Regions from separate parts of the Homo sapiens genome. Here regions 1, 2 and 3 are each linked to region 4. The links are contacts of gene promoters, found by promoter capture Hi-C in human tissues and cell types (Jung and others, 2019). All regions are on one chromosome and are shown on one strand. The core of a region is centred on a gene start or on the middle of the fragment in contact, and the rest is flanking DNA. Distances in the headings are between cores, read along the strand shown. Region 1 overlaps SLC7A14 (solute carrier family 7 member 14). Region 2 overlaps SLC7A14-AS1 (SLC7A14 antisense RNA 1). Region 3 overlaps SLC7A14 (solute carrier family 7 member 14). Region 4 holds the start of SLC7A14 (solute carrier family 7 member 14).

Evidence for each region. Contacts are between HindIII fragments. The study calls those that stand out against the background at their distance.
Region 1: a fragment that was not itself captured here is called in contact with the fragment with the promoter of SLC7A14 in region 4 in 3 of the 25 tissues and cell types used here (IMR-90 fibroblasts, hippocampus and mesenchymal stem cells).
Region 2: a fragment that was not itself captured here is called in contact with the fragment with the promoter of SLC7A14 in region 4 in 1 of the 25 tissues and cell types used here (mesenchymal stem cells).
Region 3: a fragment that was not itself captured here is called in contact with the fragment with the promoter of SLC7A14 in region 4 in 6 of the 25 tissues and cell types used here (IMR-90 fibroblasts, hippocampus, mesenchymal stem cells and 3 more).

Annotation. Positions count from the first base shown.
Region 1 is chr3:170,521,825-170,524,524 of GRCh38, forward strand. All of the region lies in intron 2 of SLC7A14 (solute carrier family 7 member 14), which reads right to left. The region is part of intron 2 of SLC7A14-AS1 (SLC7A14 antisense RNA 1); the gene reads left to right. Among named protein-coding and RNA genes, the nearest start is that of SLC7A14-AS1, 56 kb to the left of the region's middle. The HindIII fragment of the contact is 5,563 bases long and covers 1-2,700 here.
Region 2 is chr3:170,627,711-170,630,410 of GRCh38, forward strand. The region is part of intron 2 of SLC7A14-AS1 (SLC7A14 antisense RNA 1); the gene reads left to right. Among named protein-coding and RNA genes, the nearest start is that of SLC7A14, 43 kb to the left of the region's middle. The HindIII fragment of the contact is 6,253 bases long and covers 1-2,700 here.
Region 3 is chr3:170,549,846-170,552,545 of GRCh38, forward strand. All of the region lies in intron 1 of SLC7A14 (solute carrier family 7 member 14), which reads right to left. All of the region lies in intron 2 of SLC7A14-AS1 (SLC7A14 antisense RNA 1), which reads left to right. Among named protein-coding and RNA genes, the nearest start is that of SLC7A14, 35 kb to the right of the region's middle. The HindIII fragment of the contact is 4,004 bases long and covers 1-2,700 here.
Region 4 is chr3:170,584,822-170,587,521 of GRCh38, forward strand. It overlaps SLC7A14 (solute carrier family 7 member 14), which reads right to left and starts at 1,254. Exons shown (of 8, transcript NM_020949.3): 1 at 1,090-1,254. All of the region lies in intron 2 of SLC7A14-AS1 (SLC7A14 antisense RNA 1), which reads left to right. RefSeq lists a silencer at 1-33. The HindIII fragment of the contact is 10,108 bases long and covers 1-2,174 here.

The DNA of each region.
Region 1 (2,700 bases), core at 45-2,544, 63 kb before region 4:
GCAGAAGAGTCGCTTGAACCTGGGAGGTGGAGGTTGTGGTGAGCCGAGATCGTGCCATTGCACACCAGCCTGGGAGACAGAGCAAGACTCCATCTCAAAAAAAAAAGAAAAAGGTGGGGGGTGGGCAAAAGATTTAAATAGACACTTTACCAAGGAGAGCACATGGATGACAAATAAACTCATAGAAAGATGTCCAACATCATTAGTAATTAGCATAATGCAAATTAAAACCACATTGAAACATTGCTATATACCTTTTAAAATGGCAAAACAAACAAACAAACAAAAAACAAAACAACCATGAAAAACCACACCTAACAATTCTGAGTGCTGGCAAAGAACTGGAACTTTCACATATTCCTGTGCAAGTCAAATATAATACAGCTACTTTGGAAAAAAGCTTGGCTATTTATTATAAAGTTGAGCATTCACTTACCATATAAACTAACAACTTCACTCCTAAGTACTTACTTGAGAAACCACAACTTGTGTTTATATAAAAACCTACATGTAAATACTTGCAGTGAGTTTATTTACATCGGCCAAAGACTGGAAACAACCCAGTTGTCCTCCAACTGGTAAAAGGATAAACAAATGGTAGTAGAGCCATACAATGGGATACTACTCAGCAAGAAAATGGAACAACCTTCTGATACACACAACAACATGAATGAATTTCAAATGCATCTTGCTAAGCAAAAGAAAGCAAACTTAAAAGGTTATATACTGAATGATTCTATTTACATAATGTTCTGGAAAGGGCAAACCGATAGGGACTGAAAACAAATTAGTGGTTGCCAGGGGCTGGGAGTGGGAGGAGGGATTAACTACAAAGAGGCAGCCTGGAGAAATTATTTTGGAGGTGATGGAGCTCTTCTGCATCTTGATTGTGGTGAAGCTTACACGATTATATGTGTTTACTAAAGCTCATAGAAGTGTATATAAAAAAGGATGCATTTTATGATATGTAATTATAACTCAATAAAACTGAACTCCAACATCCATTTTTCATTATTACAGAAAAAAAATTCCCAAGTGATTTAAACCCATAGCCAGGGTTGAGAGTTGTTGACATTATCTCTCAACCTATCTATCAACAGATTTGAATGTGGGTTCTGTCATTTAAACTTCGGTTTACACATTTTCCACGTATGTGAAATTGGAGATAATAAAACCTACTTTAAAGAGATAAAGAGTTTTAAGGGCCACACTCTCTGGAAAGCACCTAATTTAGGGTTTGGCACAAAATAATAAAAACCACTTATTTAGTGCTATGTGCTCGGCAATGTACCAGGCAATTAATATGCATCTCCTTTAGTCTTGACAACAATCCTTTGAAGTAGGTATTATTATTTTTAAAGTGGAGAAACCGATGTTCAGAGAAATTATGGAACTTACTCAAGGTCTCACAGCTAGTCAGTGGCTGAACCAGGTTTCAAGTCTAAACTGAATGTTATTGATTGCTATACTACTTCTGAAATCTTTATTTCAAACATCCCACTCTTTATCATTTCCATCACTTCCTAGCTTTCTGTCTAACTTTCCCAGTATTTTTATTGCAATGATATCTTGACCTGATTGACAATTCCAATTTCTACCGATTCCACCACTTTTCATGAGTCATCGTCACTCTTGTGTTTCACTTCCCTTCTTATTCAGCCTAGATTATGTGATTCAGCACAGTTTAGTCTTCCTTTGAAAACACTCTTAACCCCATTACTTTTTTCTCCCTCTGCTTGGAAAAAGTTAAATCTAAGTTAATCTCAACTTTCTCTTTACTTCATTCTTGCAACTAAGCAGCAATTATTGCTGGAGATAAATGTGCAGTTGTGGAGACTGGACTCACCCTCAGGTGAGCCAGGTTTTAATTAAGACCAGAAGGAGAAAAGGACCGTGTATTTAAAAGGATGAAGATATAGGAGAGTTTGATTATTGTTGTATGGAGAAGCAGTGGGAAGTTTTGCCAAAGGTGAAACAATATGGGGATGATGATGTGAAAGTGGAAAAAAGACACTGGAGCAGCACTTCCTTTAGTTTAGTGACCAACAATCATAAGAGTGAGAGGCCTGCTTGAAGAAACCTGCTATAAATATGCTAACATTGGCATAAGTTATGATATTTTGGTCCTGGCCTGACTAGGGGCTCTGGGAGGATTCCAAATGGCCTCAGTGGCTAGATAAGTCAGTCATACAGTATAGAGAAGTGTTATGTGGAGAGGAGGAATCCTGTTTTGGGGAGAGGTAGGGTTTTTTCTTCTTGTGCTTGGTGCTGTGGTGAAGGCCTCAATTACTGGGCAGGACCAGGGTCTTTAGTGGAGGTGGCCTAGTGATGTGCTGGTAAAGGTTTAACAACTAATTCTCTGAACAATGGTAACAACAACAAACACATAGGCCCTCCATAGCTGATGCCAAGTTAACAGCATGACATCATTGAATGTAAAGCTGGAAAGAGGTATGCACCATTAGTACTCTTGGCAGCTGGTGTGAGCTGGCTCCAGCATAACACAGTCTGGACCAATTTCAGGCTCTCCATGTGAGCAGTGGAAAAGTCTAGATTATATACTGCTCATGAGCACTGTGATGGGGGTAGGTGGCAGGCTCTGGTTTCCAGATGTAATGTATCCTGTGAAGAATAAGACACAGGTAATTCATTCACAAAAATCACTGTGGTCTGGGAGACTGGGTCAAAATGGATGAGATC
Region 2 (2,700 bases), core at 55-2,554, 43 kb after region 4:
GTGTATGGTCCTCCCTGCTTCCTCTACCCTAACATGCACTCACATGGAGAACAAGCAGGAAGTACAAATACAAATAAAGAGGTTTATTCTCGCTGCTACTTCTTGATAGAAGTATTTGAGTGACAAATTTAACCAGATGATCAAGCTGGAAGCATTAAACAAGAGGGCACAACTTTTAGACAGTCCAAATGAGCAGGAATATTGCAGCGAGACTTTCTCTGACCGACCCCACATGTTTCCAGTCACTATACTAACTGCAGGCACACCAGCAATCATATTTACAGCCTAGTTCAGCCCCAAATTTATTGTGCAATTACTATTGTACCAAGAAAATGGAAATAACTAAAAAAGAAACAGACATAAATCTACCACACTAGAAAACCAAGGTGTTTTTTCTTGTTCCCTATTAGTTATTGCTTGCTTTTATACATACTTTGATCATTTTAATTACAAATCAGAACAATTATGTATTCTGCTTTTGTCTCTTAAACTGAATCATAAACATTGCTATTTGTTACCATGTTTACTTAATAACTTTATGTGCTTGTGTAATAGTCCATGTAGTCACTGGATTGTTTCCTCTCACTTTTAAAAAGAAAAACTGTACTATCTGAGCTATAGTTAAAAATCATAACTTACAAGAAGCTGGGCGCAGTGGCTCATGCCTATAATCCCAGCACTTTGGGAGGCTGAGGTGGGTGGATCACCTGATGTCAGGAGTTCGAGACCAACCTGGCCAACATGGTGAAACCCCATCTCTACTAAAAATGTAAAAATTAGCCAGGTGTAGTGGCGTGCACCTGTAGTCCCAGCTACTTGAGAGGCTGAGGCAGGAGAATTACTTGAACCTGGGAGGCAGAGACTGCAGTTAGCCGAGATCGTGCCACCGCACTCCAGCCTGGGTGACAGAGCGAAATTACATCTCAAAAAAAAAAAAAATTACAAGAAAATTAATCTGACATATATTTAATAATACACATGTTATTGAGCTACATGGTAATTAACTATAAAATGGAGAGCATTGCCTATAAAAAATTATAACTAACATTGTCTATACTCTGTGAAATAAAAACTTTCTAGGGGAGGTGCTGTAAAGAGGAAACTGTTCAGATGCCCTCCTGAAGAAGAAATAGACTTTTCTATACCTTTACGGAAATGAGCCTGCAAATTCTTTTTCTCCATTCCTGTAGCTGAAACTCTGCTTGCACAGAGGTAGAAGGAGCACAGTGGCATGCCTCAATCAGATTAGGTTAATCAGGTTGATTTTCTAGCAACTAGCTAAAAGTGTCAATGACTAATGGCCTTCTTTAATTAATTAACTTAATCAGCAAATATTTATTGGGCATTTATTATGTGCTGGATGTGGCATACATAGGGAAAAAATAACCGAGACCTCTGCTCCCTTACAGTTTACAATCTAGACAAGGTATAGCATAGTAATCAAATAAGCAATAAATAAAATAATGACAACTTTTAGTAATTATTAAGAAAGATTCAGGGCACTATCACAGATAGCAATGAAGTTGGGAAATTCTTTACATAGCGAATGAGAGGAGGCTTCTCTGTAAGAGTAAGTCACGTTGACACTGAAACTTGATGGAGAGGAAAGAGTCAGCCACACAAAGAGCAGGGGAAATAGGGGCCAGCAGGAGCAAAGGCTCTGAGGCATGGTGTATGCTTGAGATGACTAAGACCACTGGGACTGTGGTGCAGGGGGCAGCAGGCAACGTGGCCTGGGCGAGGTGGAGAGGAGGGCATGGGTCTTACCATGCACGGCCCAGAACACCACGGCGGGAGCCTGAATTTCATTCAAGGTACAATGCAAAGCCAGGTAAAAGTCTTAAGCAGGAGAATGGTGTAATTCAAATCGTGTTTTAAAAAGAACTTTTGGCCACTGCGTGGACGACAGATTGGAGGAGGGCAAGAATGGAAGTTGAAGGAATAATTAGAAGGTCGTTGGTGTTGCTGCACGAGAAGAGACCTTGGCTGGAATCTGAGTGGTGGCAGTGGAAGTGGAGACTAATCACGGGTATGGGGGCTGGAGCTGCTGGCTGAAAGGACTGTGAAGAATGAGAGAAAAGCAAGTTGCCAATCATGACTCCCAGGTTTCCAGGCAAGCTCCACATTTAGAAGTGAGAGGCAGGAAGGCAAGAGGTCTCTCCTGGATATTTAAGTTGGAGATGCCTTGTGGGACATCCGAATGGAACTATCCGCGTGGCAGTGAGATATAGGAGTCTCAGGTCGATATTATCAGCCTGGCAATATTCAAAGCCCGAGGACTGGATGAGACTCAAGGAGAGTGTGTAGTTGGGGAAAAGAAGGAGCCCAGGACTGAGTCAGTAACTTCTCAGAGATGTGCAATCATGACCAGAAGTAAATCCCCAACTGGTGGAAAGTCAAGCTCTCTGATGATTTGTAGTGTATGTTTTTACTATTAAATAATCCCTCAGTGGTCAGAGAAACTATCCAGAGAAATTATTTTCTTTCAGGTCTTTCAGTTTCTCTCTGCCTACCTCTCCTAGTTCTGGTATCACCTAACCCTTAGGGATCCTCCTACAGGGAAAGAGGGGGAAATGTGGGTAAGGTTTTTCATGCTCTGTGACCATGTAGGCTGTCACCTTAAGTGGTTCTTTGATCAAGGGAAACCCATCAGGTCTCAGTCAATCCAAGAGATGATATGTTTGCTTTGGAAAAGAAAGC
Region 3 (2,700 bases), core at 89-2,588, 35 kb before region 4:
TGACAGTGAGGATGGAAAGCAATTTAAACTCTTTACAAGTAAATCTTTATAATTCCAGGGGCAGAGGTCTGATGGGTGAAAGCTTTAGTCTAGGGAAATGCCAAAAGCTGTGGCTGCTGTGGTTTTATCTGTTTGTAATTTTATGTGCAGAGGGGAAAAGAGGAAGACCCTGAGCTATAATTAAATGATGGTTGTGATTGGACATGTGTGTGTAATGAAGGGTTGACCTGAAAATAAGTCAGTGGTCCTCAATTCTATTAGCCTTAATGCCACCTTTTTAACAGCACACGTTGCATTATAAATGTGATGGGGCATTCTGCCCATTTCTAAGCTGAAATGAAGTTCATAGATAATATAACCAACCCACAAACATTATTCAAGAAAAATCAATATAGTGCACTTACTATAATATGAAGAAGAACTAGAAGGCAATTAATTTGTAGTAAAAAATACTCTTTAAGCTGTAAATGCACAAGAATGATATAATGAAATACTTAAACTTGCATCTATGCATAGAGTCACTGAGATCTCAATAGCCATAAACCGTAAAGTGTGGGTGTTGGTGATTCAAATACTACTGCACAGGGTTTGTGGTGAAGTGGTTTTTTGAAATGGTAAACGACTCTTGTAATCTTTCAAACTAAACCTAATGCCATCTTTCCTTGAATTTTTTTTTTTTTTTTTTTTTTTTTGGTGACAGAGTTTCGCTTTTGTCGCCCAGGCTGGAGTGCAATGGTGTGATCTCGGCTCACTGCAACCTCCGCCTCCCAGGTTCAAGCAATTCTCCTGCCTCAGCCTCCTGAGTAGCTGGGATTACAGGTTCCTGCCACCATGCCTGAATAATTTTTATATTTTTAGTAGAGACGGGGTTTCACCATGTTGGCCAGGCTGGTCTCGAACTCCTGACCTCAGGTGATCTGCCTGCCTAGGCCTCCCAAAGTGCTGGGATTACAGGCATGAGACACCGCGCCCAACCATCTTTCCTTGATTTGTATATTGGTTGCCTTTCTGAAAAATTCAGCACATATATTTTTTAAAAGCGAAGTGTAATCCACATACTATAAAATTCATCCTTTTAAAGTATATATTTCAGTGTTTTTTTAGTACAGTATATTCACAGAATTGTGAAACTATCACACTGATTTAATTTTAGAACATTGTAATTACCCCCTCAAAAATCCCATACCCATGAGCAGTTACTCTCCATTGCTCCTCCCCCAACTCCTGGTAACCACTAATCTACTTTCTTTCTTTATGGATTTGCCTATGTTGGACATTTCACATAAATTCAGTAATATTATATGTGGCCTTTTGTATCTGGCTTCTTTCACTTATCATAACGTTGTCAAAGTTCATCCATGTTGTATCACATATCAGAACTTCATTTCTGTTTTATGGCTGAATAATATCCCATTATATGGCTATACCATATTTTGTTCACTCATTCATAGTATTCAGTTGATACCATTTGGATTGTTTCCACTTTTTGGATATTATGAATAATGTTGCTGTGAGCATTCGTGTACAGATTTTTGTGTGGACATTCGTTTTCAGGTCTCTTGGATACATACTGGGAGTGGAAGTGCTGTGTCATATGGCATCTCAATGTTTAACATTTTCAGGAACTGCTGGACTGTGTTCCAAGACAGCAGCACCACTTTGCATTCCCACCAGCAATGGATGATTTCAGTTTCTCTACATCTTCCTCAATATGTGTTATTGTTAATCTTTTTAAAATTACAACCATCCTAAAGGGTGTGAAGTTGTATCTCATTGTGGTTTTACTTTTATTTCCCTAATGACTAAAGATCTTGAGCATCTTTATCGGCCATTTGTACATACCTTTGAAGAAATATCTATTCAAATCATTTGCCCATTAAAAATGGGTTATTTCTCTTTTTATTGTTGAGTCATAAGATTCTTTATATATTCTGGATTCTAAATCCTTCTCAGATATATGTGTTGCAATATAAACCATTCTGTGCTTTTCCTTTTCACTTTCTTAAAGATTTCATTCTTTTCACTTTCTTAAAGGTTTCATTTGAAGTGCAAAAGTTTTTTGGATTTGAAGTAGTCTAATTTATCTATTTTTCCTTTTATTGTTTATGCTTTTGATATCATATCTAAAAAACGTATTGCCTAATCCAAAATTACAAAGACTTATGACTATATTTTCTTCCAAGAATTTTATTGTTTTAGCTCTTATGTTTTGGTCTTTAATCCATTCTGAGTTAATTTTTGAATAACAACTGAGGTAAGGGTCCACCTTCATTCTTTATCATGTGTGTATCTAGTGGACTCAGCACCATTTGTTGAAAATACTGATCTTTTCCCTACTGAATTGTGTTGGTGTCAAGACAATTGGTGTCTTAGTGTCAAGACAATTCAATAGGAAAAATAAGAGTCTAGAGATACACTCTTACATTAATAAGTTTAATAAAACTTAAAACAAAATTAAGAGTCCAGAAATACACCCTCACATTGTTGGGCATTGAGATCAGTTGCCTAACAATGTAAGGATGTATTTGTGGACTCTTAATTTTATTCCATTGATCTACATATCAATCTTTATAGCACATATAAAATTTATACATAGTACTTTATGTTTATATGCAAAATGGTATTGTGTTCTGGGATGCTGAGATCATTATTAACAGGTTTTTGACCTGTGTGATTGTCTGGTTGTATATTTGAAAGCGA
Region 4 (2,700 bases), core at 4-2,503:
CTTGGGCAATTCGGGCCAGTGACGTTCACCGACACTCAGGCGGGGATCCCTTCGCCAGAGCCAGTTCCTTTGAGTGTCTCCGCTCAAAATCTCAAGGAAACGAGCTTCACACAGGTGGGGGGATGAGGAGTGCCAGAACAGGAGCGAGCCCCGCTGCTCTAGCCTTCCTGCATCTCTTCTCGCCTTTGCTTTGCTCACTCTTCAATCGCAATATAAAATACTCATTTGGGGAGGGGGCAGGGTGACACAGGAGAGAGAAGGAGGGTGGGGGCTGCATCCCGCGTGGCCACGCAGCCCTAACCTGGCCCTCTTGGATTAGAGGGGAGCTGATGTGCTTTGGAATGGGAGAAGAGAGGAGACTGAGGGTTGAAGCAGTGCAGGAGAGCTCCCCTTGCTGGGGCTGCCGGCTCTGGGCAGGGAGCTTCCCTGGACACCGCTCCCGTCACGTCCTCTTCGCCGCTCCCGGGAGAGTCACCACTCTCCGGGGACAGACGCCCCTCGGGGCGCCACCATCCTGGTCGGGGTGCTGGGCTCGGCGGGAGTCCCTTTGAGGAGTTTGCTCCCAGGTAAAAGGGCAGACGTTGCTCCCGACCTCCCCGGAGTCTGCGGCCGGAAAAGCGTCTCCGTTTCATGGTCTCGGTCCGAGGCGGAGAACGGAGCTGCCCGTGCGGGGTGCGCGCCAAGGCGGGGGACAGGACGGGCCCGGCGTCTGCCGAGACCTAGGCTGCCCGCATTCCGCTCGCGGCTCCCCTTCTGCCTCCCGCTCTAGCGGCGCCGGAGCCGCGCTGGCCCCCGCCCCGCCCGGCAGCTCCCGCGAGTCAGAGCCCGGTGCCCCCAGACCGCGGGCAGTCGGGGCCTCATTCCGGGCCAGAGCAGGAAAGAGCCCGACCCACCTCCTCGGTTCTTCCAGGGAACCCCTTCTCGGAGGGCGCCCTGGGCCTCCGCGCCATATTCCTGGTCCCCCGCTCCCGGTGACTCCGGCTCCCTGGGTCATTCCGGGAGAGGCGGCCATCCCAGTTGCAGGGGTCCCGCTGGGGCGCGGGGGGCGCGGAGGGGGACAAACGGCAGCGAAGGGGGCCGTTCACTTACCGGGGTCGGGGCTGGAGGCGACGAGCTGGCTGCCAAGGCTGGTGGCTGGCAGTCCGCACTTACTGCGCGGAGCTGTCTCTCTAGCTGGGATGGGAAGTGGTGGTGGCGGCAAAGGAAGGCAGGAGGCAGCCGCTGCTGCTGAACAGCTCCTCAATTATTCAGATTGGGCCCCCACCCCCCGAACCCCTCCCCGTGCCTGCTCGTCCTCCCTCCAGCTCGCCTGTCTCCGCCTCCTTGGAGTCACATGGCCTGCCCAACCCCTTACATACTGGGCCCAAGCCTGGCACCAGACCACCTCCCACCTGGCCCCCCTGCCTTCCCCTCTGTCTGCCGCTCACAACTCCTCGCTGGCCTTCTGAGCCTCCAGTTGTGACCTCCAGTGTCTTATGTCAGGCTGCAGGGAGGTTGAGGGGGCCGTGGATGGGGGCAGTTCTTTGCCCTGGGAAAGCAGGGACCAGCAGGACTCTGCAATGTCTGTGCGTTGGGAAGGCATCTGCCGCAGCTCTGCCCCTGCTAGACTGGGCTGTCCAGACCTCCTTCCTGCCCTCTGGAAGCTTCCCTCATCCTCTGCGGAGCCTTCGTTGCTCTTAAACTTCCACATCCCTGAGCCCTACAGGAAAGAAAAAATGAGAGAGGTTGATTTCTCCTCTCCTCCTAAAGAAGACAAGACCCACCTCTGTCTTCAAAGCTTAAGTTTATCGTTGGGTTCACAACATCTTATGGGTGCAAAGATCATGGACTTGAGATTTGAAGAGCCATTAGGATTCCAATCTGTATGACCTTGGAGCATTTAACTTTCTAGCTTTTCTTCTCTCGTCTGTGAAATAACCACCTTGCAGTATTGTCATGAGATTGAGAAATCATCATGTTCTTAGAATTGCCTAGCCTAGAGTTGGACAGGTATTTGGAGCTCAATAAAGGAGAGTTCTTTTTCCCCCACCTTTGTTAAAATAAATTTCACAAGGCAAGAAGGATGTGATGTGTGCTAATACAGTGAAAGCATCTTTTAAACATGGAAGGAGGCATCTGTGAGGTCAGGCTAGACAAGTACCAGTCTAAACGGAGACAAGAGTGAGATAAGGTTTCTGTTTTGTATTAGCTCCTTTAAGATGAGTGTCCTAGAGCCAGGTTATGTCCCAAAAGGATTGGGACTAGATGGGACCAACCCAGGCATGCTTGGCCACATCACCGAATGAATTATTTAACAAGCATTGAGTAGACTGATTTGGATGAAAGTTATCTACATAAATTCTTGCACTTTGGCCCAAGCCCTCAAAACACATGGGAGGCAACAAAATGTAACTCTCCTATCCTTGGAAATGAATTCACTGGGCTTGTGTTTGGGGAGAATACTGGCTGACTGATACTCCTCTAGGGTGGAGCAGTTCAAATCTAGCTCTACTTTGTGGGTCTGCCCTGGGCTCTTCCCAGAAAGTTGCTTGATCATTGCCAGGACAGTCTTGGTTAGTCCACCTACCTCAAGCTTGTTACTGCCTTCGATGAGCATCTAAGCCTGACAATATCCCCATATTTTAAGCTTTGAGTAGTTCTGCAGGATATGTTAGACCTCCTGGGATCACCAAGAAGCTGTGAGACATTGTAGGAAAAGTG